Regions from separate parts of the Homo sapiens genome. Here all the other regions are linked to region 2. The links are contacts of gene promoters, found by promoter capture Hi-C in blood cells and fetal thymus (Javierre and others, 2016). All regions are on one chromosome and are shown on one strand. The core of a region is centred on a gene start or on the middle of the fragment in contact, and the rest is flanking DNA. Distances in the headings are between cores, read along the strand shown.

Region 1 (3,038 bases), core at 353-2,852, 70 kb before region 2:
CAGTTTCCAAGAGCTAAGGAAGAAGAGCTTGAGCTGGTTGGGAAGCCTTAGCCACTACCTCCATTTACCTGAGCTGGGATGAATAGGGACGAGGGCCAGGGATCAGAGAAGGATGTGTTGACAAGGGGGCTGATGGCAGTCTCCTCCTCCAAACCACCCTGTTCAGTAAGACGACCATGTACCCTCTTCCCACCCATGCCACTTCCCTGATACACTTCCCAGCCCTCCACCACCCCCCAATTAGCCAGGCATACCCACACACACACTCCTACCACTACAGGACAAACCTCCTGCCTCCCCTGGGGGAGATGCCATCAAGGCCCAGAGAAACTCTAGCCCTCTGCTCAACTACCACTCCCATTCCCCACTCCTCCAGATTTGAGGTCACAGGGTGTTCATGAGTATCTGTCACAACCAATGGCTGCCACTTACTGTAAGCCTAAGTGGCTTCCTGACAGTTGCTATATACTGCAATGCTAAGAAATAGAGTACACTTGCCTCTTGAGGAAGTTTACATTGATTAATTTTGAACAGTAGCCTATTATTGAGGGGGACACTGGTGATGAACTTAGCTAATTTCCTAAGGAAGAAGATGCAGAGGCAATATAGACCCATCTCTGAGTAGGGAGATGTGGGGAAGGGGTCTAGCCCTCCCTGTAAGCTTCTCCTTAGGTATCCAGCCTTGCCGGGGTTCAGAAGAGAGTACAGGGCTGGGCATGTCCTCCAGAAATTTGCAAGACTTCTGCAAGAAATCTGAGATTCGCTTGAGGAGAGGGCTGGCAGCCAGAGAGCAGAAGAACGTGTACCCTGTGGGTAGAGACAAGGTCAGGGAGATTGAGTGGGGGGTGCTTTAGAGCTGTAAGCAAGGCAAGATCAGAGAATGAGATCCAGGGCAGGTCCAGGCAGTGATGGAGAAACAGGTCATGGGGAAATGGAAGAGTTTCGCAGGCTGGCTGCCACTAGGACCTTGATGTGGACCAGGCTTCCAGGGTCCCCCAGCGAGCCTGCTCCAATCCCTTTTGTGGTCCTTGCTACCTGAGGCCAGATTCCCTGCACCTGGTATCAGGAAGGCCCACTTTGGGATGCTGATAATTCCAGCTCCTCTCCAACTTCCCATTTCCCTACTAAGCTTTTCCCATGTACATCACACTGGGGCAGCCTATTCCAAACCATGTTCTACCACAAGGGTTCCTCAAAAAACAACATCCATGGTGAAGTAAATTTGAAACACAAATAAATTTGAGAACTTACATGGAAAGTTCAGCTATTTCCTCCTATGAAACTTTCATAGTCTTTCATAGGTGAAGGTACACTGCAACTCTACAAGGCACCCTGAGAATGTATTTCCTACATTGATTTGGCCACAGAACCCTCTTTGAAAGAACAGATAAAACATCTCTTAGGTCACTTTTGTCAAAGACATACACAGTCTGGGAACAGCATTCCCGAGTTATCTGAGTTTCCTGGGGGCTGTTTCTTGGATGAGAAAACCTGCCCAGGGCCCAGGAGAGAATCCTTCAGTCGGTCCTGGGAGGAGTAGCTCCCAAGAACTTGGTATTCCTTAAGGCTCCCAGATCCCTGCCAGCTGACTGACTGCCTGGCACCAAGAGGCCACAGTGCTTGCTTCATGGGGCACCAGGCAGGTAAGAAGGAAAGTCTCAATGACCAGTAGGACAATTTCCCATCTTCCCTCACCCCACTTACCTAAATCATCCTCCCCCTGACCCACCCCACCTTCCCCACCACCCATGGAGCCACATCTATGAGACAGATTTTTAAGGAGATTTCAGAGCCCTCCACCCAGCCCTGACTCCAGTCCCTTCAGCTACAAGTATGACCCCAAGTGCCTGACTTGGTTTTTCTCATTCATCACTGTGCACTTTGATTTCTAACCTTAGCCTCGCGGATGATGCCAGTTTGTTCTGTGATTTTTCCCCTTTTCCTTCTCCAGATGTCCAAATGGATTCTTCGGACAGAGATGTTTGGAGAAACTGCCTTTGCGATTGTACATGCCAGATCCTAAGCAAAGTATGTTTGAAGATACAAACACAAGTCCCTGCTCCTTAGAAAGCTTCTGGGTGCAGTCCCCCCAATGTAGGGCATAGGGCCAGGGGTGTTGGTTGTTTTGATCTTTGGCTGTTTTGTTTTGTTTCTCTTTTCTTTTTTGTATTTTGGTTTGTTAGTTCTTTTTGTTTTGTTTTGTTTTGCTTTGTTTTCATTTTTGGCCTAATCCTTGGGTTTAAAGTTCAGGGCTGCAGGTAAGGGGCAGAGTGGCAAGGCCAATACAAATGGTAACGGTGGCAAGGAACCCAGCTGGCATTGGCAGGAGCCCGTGCCGGGGTGTTGCAATGCCTGTGTCTTGCTATCCTGGCTCTCTCTTTCTGGTTTTCTTTCTTTTGGTAGGTGTCCTGTGGGATACACCGGGGACAGGTGTCAGCAGTTCGCAATGGTCAACTTCTCCAGTATGTCTCTTTCTTCTATTTCTTCTCTTCCCTGGTGACTGACAGTCTCCCCCTGGGGAGGGATGGGGCCTTGCTTAGCAAGACTAGGGGGAGATGTAGAGGGTGTCCTGCGCTCCTTAGAGGAGACGGAAACACCCCCGGCACCCCCACCTCCACATGTGGGCTGTACCTCCTGGGCACAGTAATGCCAAGTTCTCTCTGCAGCAGCCAGGGCCACACCCAGGCCTCCTCCCAACTTCTGGGGTCGGGCAGCCTGGCCAGAATGGGAGGAAGCATTTGCAGAGCCCTCCCCTGCTCCGAAGGCTGCCTGAGGGTACCAAAGGGTCTGGCAGTGAGTGTGTGTGTGTGTGTGTGTGTGCCGACGTGTTTGAGAGAGAAAAAAAGTTCTCAGAAAGCCCATTTTCCAGTCTGGCCAGAGTTTGTTTGTTTTGAGGGTTTGGAAATGGGGTAGAGGGAAGGAAGGGGAATTAAGGGAGAGCAGGACCCAGGGCAATGATTTCCATGAATACCAGAGATATTTATGTGGCTACAGGATGGTGGGAGAGGGGGCGGGGGTTGGTGCTGGAGATGCTAAAA
Region 2 (3,130 bases), core at 17-2,516:
CCACGGGTTGGGTTTGGAGGCAGTCCCAGCCCAGTGAACCCCCCCACCCCCAACCACTATTAAGCAGCTCTTGTTTGTAGGATCTAGAAAAAGGAACTGGGGAACCCAGGAAAGTCCAAACCCAGGCTGCCCACCTGCCCTGGCCAAATCCTGAGCCCTCTCGCTGATCCCCATCAAATTCAGCCTGGCTTATCCCCAGGCTGCCAGGAGTCTTAGGCCCTCTTCCATTGTGACTGCTGCTTCTGCTCCCTGTTCTCTTCCTGGCCCCCCCAAGATGGCCCCAAGACAAAGGGGTGGGCTTGAGACAGTGGCCCCCTGGGCCTATGCAAAAACAATGCCCCCAGTGATCATTCCGGGGAGTCCCTGCATCCTCTAGGAACAGCTGAATACCTCCTCCTCCGAGGGGGCCCGCTGGGCAGGGTTGTCCCCAGTCTGGACTCCCTCTGCACCCAGCCCCAGCAGCCCGCTCCTGGGACCCCTCCCTCCCGCTGCCGCCTCGGCCATTATGTGCCTCCTCAGCCCTGACTGCCACGCCCCCGTGCGAGCCCCCGCTCTAGCTGCAGAGCCGGGGAGGCCTGGCCGCCAAGCAGGGCTGTCAAAGTTGGGAAACTGGAAACAGAAATAAATCCTCAAAGCTGCAGCCTCGTGAAGGTGGCTGCCGGCAGGCCCCGGTACCCAATGCCCCGATCCCCGACCACCAGGCTGCCACTGGCACCCCCCACGCACACGCGTACCCCCAGATTATACAAAAGCGGGGAGAGGGTAGTGGGTGGCGGAGCCGGGAGACAATCGGCCCGGCAGCCCCCACCGTCCCTCAGGCTGGGCTCGGGCTTTCCCGCGGCGCCCCCTCTCCCCGGCCCAGACCCGGCCAGCCCGGGCTTCCTCTCTCGGCCCCATCTCCATGACAACCGTATCCTTCGGATGCTCCAGACGCCGCGGAATTGATCTGGAAATGTAGCTTTGTTAGCGGACCCGGGTGGGCACCGAGGGCGAGGGCGACGCCCCCCACCCGCACGCGGCCCTCTCCCCGGCCCGTCCCGCCCCGGCCTGGCCGCCAGCGGGGAGGGGCGGGTCCCGGAGCCCCGCGGCCCCACTCACCGCTGCTGGTCCCCGCCGCGGGTCCGGCCTCTCACGGCGGGGCCATCGGAGGCCGCCGGGCTGCCTGTCCCGCCCCGCCGCCGCCGGTCGGAGCTGCCCGCGCCCGCCCGCGTCCCTTCAGGTGCCGGAGCCGCGATGTGGAGAGGCTGAGCGAGGGGGACGGACGGCAGGAGGGAGGGAGCGGAGCCGTGAGCTGGAGGAGGAGGAGGAGGGAGGAGCGGGAAGGGCGGGGAAGGGCGGGGGCACTGCGGGCGCGCGAGCGGCGGGCGCGGAGCCCGGAGGGAAGCGCGGCCCCCAGCCCTGTCCGCTTGCAGCGCAGCGCTCGCCCCGGGACCCCGAGCGTGCCGGGGAGAGCGCGGCCCACCTTGTCCCCCTCTGCCCCGCGCGGGCCCTTTAAGAAAGGGGGGGAGGGGAGCGCCCGGGGTTCTGCCCCCTCCTAGCCACGCTGGGCCCCTGCCGTCCTCGAACCCTCGGGCAGACCCAACCACCTCCGCCCTCCAGGCAGGACCCACCGGTCTAGAACCTGAGCTCTCGGGACCCGCCAGGCCCTGGAGGTGAAGGAGGGGGCGGGTCCTGGCCCTCCTCCCGCGGTCTGTTCAGGGAGTGACCCCTGCCCCCAGCCCCCCGACACACACGCCAGCCCCCGGGAGACGCCGCCAAGGGAGGAGCAGGGAGTGCGGGGGGCCAAGGTGAAGAATCTCAGAGAGGGAGACTGAGCCCCTGAGACCTAGAGTCACACGGGACGGGACGGAGACCTGGGCTGTGGGGTGAGAAGGAGCCTCGGGACAGAGTGGGATGGGAGGAGGCAGGAGAGAGGAGAAAGAGACAAAGGAGAAAGAACCTGAGGGAGGCGGGAGGTGAGGGGTGGGTCCAACCAAGAATCCACATCCCTGTGCCAGGTCAAGGGGAAGCCTCCCTGGGCAGATATAAGGAGACAGAGAGAGACAGAGGGTGCCCTGGGCAGAGGAAACCATCTCCCAAGGCACCTGTCCCACGGTGTCTCCCCAAGGGCAAGTCAAGGCCCTGAAGCCGCCCCCCTCAGCCCAGGACTCTAACTGAAGAAGAGGGTTGACTGGCTGTACCTGGGCTAGACATTAAGAACTTCCTGGCTGTGAGGCACCTGCAGAGTAAGAGTCCGCCTCTCAGAGAGGCATTAAAGGGCCCCCACCCACAGGGATCTAAGGAGGGCGTGGGGAGCAGGCCCAGTGCCTGGGAGAAGGGAAATCAGGATAGAGTCAGGCCCTGCCACTGGAGGCCACTTTCTACCCCTCTCCCCTACTCCAGCCCCTGGGGGGTTCACCACACCCAGTTGCTTCCATCTCCAGACCTCAGCAGATGATCCACACTCTGCCCGGTGGGGCCTTGATCCTGCTGTGCTCAGTGAACTCCTACTGAACCCTCAAATTCCTCCTTAAATGCCCCTTCCTTCATGAAGTCTTCTCTGACCTTCTTTCCACCCATGAACACACAAACATGGACTCTTCTTAGGGAGCAGGAAGAGGATTTGCTGACCTCTTAGGGTGGCAGTAATTGGAGGTGTGGAATCTGAGCTGTGCGTAGTCTCCCTCCCTTCAAGCTGGGCAACAGCAGGAGCTGGGACTTCATCAACCATGGTGACACCTCTGACAACCAAGCATCTACCAAGTGCTCTTCATGTGTCATATTTAATTCTCAAAACAATCCTACAACCCGTTTTACAGATGAGAAAACTGAGACTTGGAGAGCATAAGTCACTTGCTCATGATCCCAGGAGATCTGAATCTGTGAGCACAGCTGGTCAATTAAGAGGGCACTCAGACCACATCCTTCACTGCCCATCAAACCCTAGGACATTACCGCAGAGCCCAGAAACAAGGGAGCCACTCTCTGTGCAGGTGCCCAGGATCTTAAAGGGCACAGAGGGAGCTTGGCTTCCCTGCTGTCCTGCATTCTACCCCCCTGCCCTCTGCTACCTGTAGGCAGAGAAGGGTGGCGACCAGCAGGGGCTGTGGAGGGAAGTGCTCATGGCAGGGCTTAGATACCACATTCCCCA
Region 3 (3,339 bases), core at 790-3,289, 120 kb before region 2:
TTTCCCAACTTCTCTCAGTGTTCTAGTGACTGATGTTAAGAACCTTGGGGCTTGTCTGGGCTGTTTACTAACCACATCTTGGACCCTCAGTTTCCTCATCTGCTATGTGAAGATGGTAATGCGCTCCCTATCTCACTAAAGAGCACTGAACGAGACAAGCTATCTGGAAGCATGTTTTAAGCTGTAAAAGGGTACACAAAGAAGAGATGTAATAATTGTGCTGTCATCTTTAGTTTTTTTTAGCTAAAAAAGCTAAAAGCTACTATCATCTTTAGCCACACATTCACCCCATCACCTTATGTTACCATTTCCTTTATCCCTGTACTTCTCATCCATCCTTTTATCTCAATTCTTGATATGACCACCAGAGTTTAAACTCTGTCATCCATTGCCTAGACTAGTTCTATCCGAGCCTAGTTATATCCTCTAACTCAGTGGTTCCCAGACTGCAATCCATCCACATAAGAATTACTAGGAGGAATTTATTTTTTAAAAAATGCAATTGTAGTCTCTTTCACAATTGTGCTGGGACAATGGAATATCCACGCGCAAAAGAATACCTCATACCGTATACAAAAATTAACCCAACATGGGTCAAAGACTTAACAGTAAGAACTTAAAACACAAAACTCTTAGAAGAAAAAATAGGCATAAATCTTTGTGACATTCAATTAGGTAATAGTTTCTAAGATATGACACCATAAGCATGAGCAACAACAGCAAAATAGTTAAAGTAGAGTTAATCAAAATTTTAAAAAATGTTGCATTTCAAAGGATACCATCAAGAAAGTGAAAAGACGACCCACAGATTGGGAGAAAAATTTTGCAAAAATTTTATCAGATAAGAGAGTTGTATCCATAATATATAAAGAGCTCTTACAATTCAATTATAAAAAGATAAATGACCCAACTAAAAATGAACATATTCAATTTATTTGTCAATTATACCTCAATAAAACTGGGGAAAAAATGAGTCAAGGATCTGAATAAACATTTCCCCAAAGAAGACATACAAATGGCCAATATGTACAAAAAAAGATGCTCAACATCATTAGTTATCAGGGAAATACAGATCAAAACAATAATAAGGCTGGGGACAGTGGCTTACACCTGTAATCCCAGCACTTTGGGAGGCTGAGGTGGGCAGATTACTAGAGCCCAGGAGTTCTAGACCAGCCTGAGCAATGTGGCAAAACCCTGTCTCTACAAAAAATACAAAAATTAGCCAGGCACAGCGGTGCATGCCTGTAGTCCCAGCTACTCAAGAGGCTGAGGTGGAAGGATCGTTTGAGCCCGGGAGGTCAAGGCTGCAGTGAACCGTGATCACACCACTGTGCTCCAGCCTGGGTGACAGAGTGAGACCTTGTCTCAAAAAAACAAAAAAAATGAAACAAAATGACAATAAAGTAATGTACTTTCCAAAAACCATTGAATTGTACACTTTAAATGGGTGAATTGTATGGTATGTGAATTATACCTCAATAAAGCTGCTTTTAAAAAAATCACAAGATACCATTTCACATCCATTGGGATAGCTAGAATCAAAAAGTCAGATAATAACAGGTGTTGATGAGAATGTGGAGAGACTGGAACCCTCATACACTGCTGGTGGGAATGCAAAATGGTGCAGCTGCTTTGGAAAACGATCTGGCAGTTCCTCAAATGATTAAACGTAGAGTTACAATATGACTGAGCAATCTTACTTCCAAGTGGGATTTCAGATAATATATATACCCAAGATAAATGAAAGCACATGTCCACACAAAAGCTTATACACAAATGTTCATAGAAGTATTATTTGTAATAGCCGAAAAGTAGAAACAATCCAAATGTCCATCAACTGATGAACATATAAATAATATCTGGTATATATACATATAATGGAATACTATTCGGCCACAAAAAAGGTATGAATACTGATCCATGCTACAACATGGATGAACCTGGAAAACATTATACCTAGTGAAAGAAGGCAGTCAAGAAAGGCCACAGATTGTATGATTCCATTTATATGAAGTTTCCAGAACAGGCAAATCTGTGGTGACAGAAAGTCAATCAGTGGTTGCCAGGGGATGAAGGGGATGGCAGGGGGAGGGGGTGCTAAAGAGTACGAGGTTTCTTTTGGGGATGATGAAAATGTTCCAAAACTTATTGCAGTGATGGCTGCACAGTTCTGTGAATAGACCACAAAAGTGAATTATATACTTTAAATGGGTCATTTGCATGGCATGTGAATTATATCCCAATTAACCTTAAAAATGCAGTTATAAGGGGAAAATTGATGGTGGGGATATTTTACAGAAAGCTTTAAATGCCAAGTTGAGCAGTGAGGACTGGATTCTCTGGGACCAGTTTTCTCGAAGTGTGCTTCATATACCGTCTGCCTCACAATAGTTACAAATACCAAGTCCTGGCTGCACCCCAGAGACTGTAATTCAGAATGTTTTTCGTGGGATCGGTACTTGCATTTGTAGCAAGCACCCCACAGAGGCTGCAGGCTACACCCCATTGTTAAACATTTTGCTGATCAATCTTGCTGCCTCCAGACTCTGCTCCATTCTGCCCTGCATGACGCTGCTGGATGAGCCTCCAAGAGTATAGTTTGGGTTGGGTCACCTTCCTGCTCAGAACCCTTCAATATCCTTTCATTCCCTTAGCATGAGCTCCAGGTGCTCTGGGCAGCCTGGTTCCCACCCAGTCTTTTTAGCCTTATCTCCATGACTTCCTACATGTCAGTCAAAATGTAATATTCATCATTCTCTGAACCTGTTTTGTGGATTCCCACTCAGTGTCATTGCCAGGCTGTCCCATATTCCAGGAAAGCATCTCCTGTACTCTCAGCTCATCTTTTGCGATACAAATGTCACCATGATCCTTCCTTTCATTTTAACTAGCTGATCGTCTAGAATTTACCACACAGCCTTTCATAATCTTTTAAGCTATACAGTTCTGCTACTTGTAAATTGAATGACAATATTCAGAGTTGTCTGAATATACAGACAATATACGGAGAAAACACCTGTAGATCAGGCAGTGCAGCCTGACACCTGGTCAGAGTGCAGTACTGGGAATAAAATCCTGGTAGCAATCTCCTCTGAGGAATTCAGCATCCTTCCTGGTAATCCAGAGATCAGGGGCCTGCATCAGGCACCAGTGGAATGTAAGCAGGACCTGGGGGACCCTGGCCACCACCCAACCTGTCAAGTCTTGGCAGCTTAGCTGGCGCCACTTCCTTACAGAGGCTGGAAACTGCTGAATTGAATCCTCATTTCAACTGGTGACCCCAAGCAGAAATGCTCTCCCAATCCCATTGTCCTCTGTACTGTGTCCACGAAATCA

What was found. Contacts are between HindIII fragments. The CHiCAGO score rates a contact against its expected background, and 5 or more counts as called.
Region 1: a fragment that was not itself captured here is called in contact with the fragment with the promoter of PSD2 in region 2 in 9 of 17 cell types (M1 macrophages, naive CD8 T cells, M0 macrophages and 6 more); the score reaches 6.7 in M1 macrophages.
Region 3: a contact is called between a fragment that was not itself captured here and the fragment with the promoter of PSD2 in region 2, in 1 of 17 cell types (M2 macrophages). The highest score is 6.0, in M2 macrophages.

The regions. Positions count from the first base shown.
Region 1 is chr5:139,864,539-139,867,576 of GRCh38, reverse strand. It overlaps NRG2 (neuregulin 2), which reads left to right. Exons shown (of 10, transcript NM_004883.3): 5 at 1,952-2,028. Among named protein-coding and RNA genes, the nearest start is that of PSD2, 70 kb to the right of the region's middle. The HindIII fragment of the contact is 942 bases long and covers 1,132-2,073 here.
Region 2 is chr5:139,793,944-139,797,073 of GRCh38, reverse strand. PSD2 (pleckstrin and Sec7 domain containing 2) reads right to left here and starts at 1,266. Exons shown (of 15, transcript NM_032289.4): 1 at 1,099-1,266. RefSeq lists a silencer at 1,548-1,747. The HindIII fragment of the contact is 8,840 bases long and covers 1-3,130 here.
Region 3 is chr5:139,915,301-139,918,639 of GRCh38, reverse strand. The region is part of intron 1 of NRG2 (neuregulin 2); the gene reads left to right. Among named protein-coding and RNA genes, the nearest start is that of PSD2, 120 kb to the right of the region's middle. The HindIII fragment of the contact is 537 bases long and covers 1,771-2,307 here.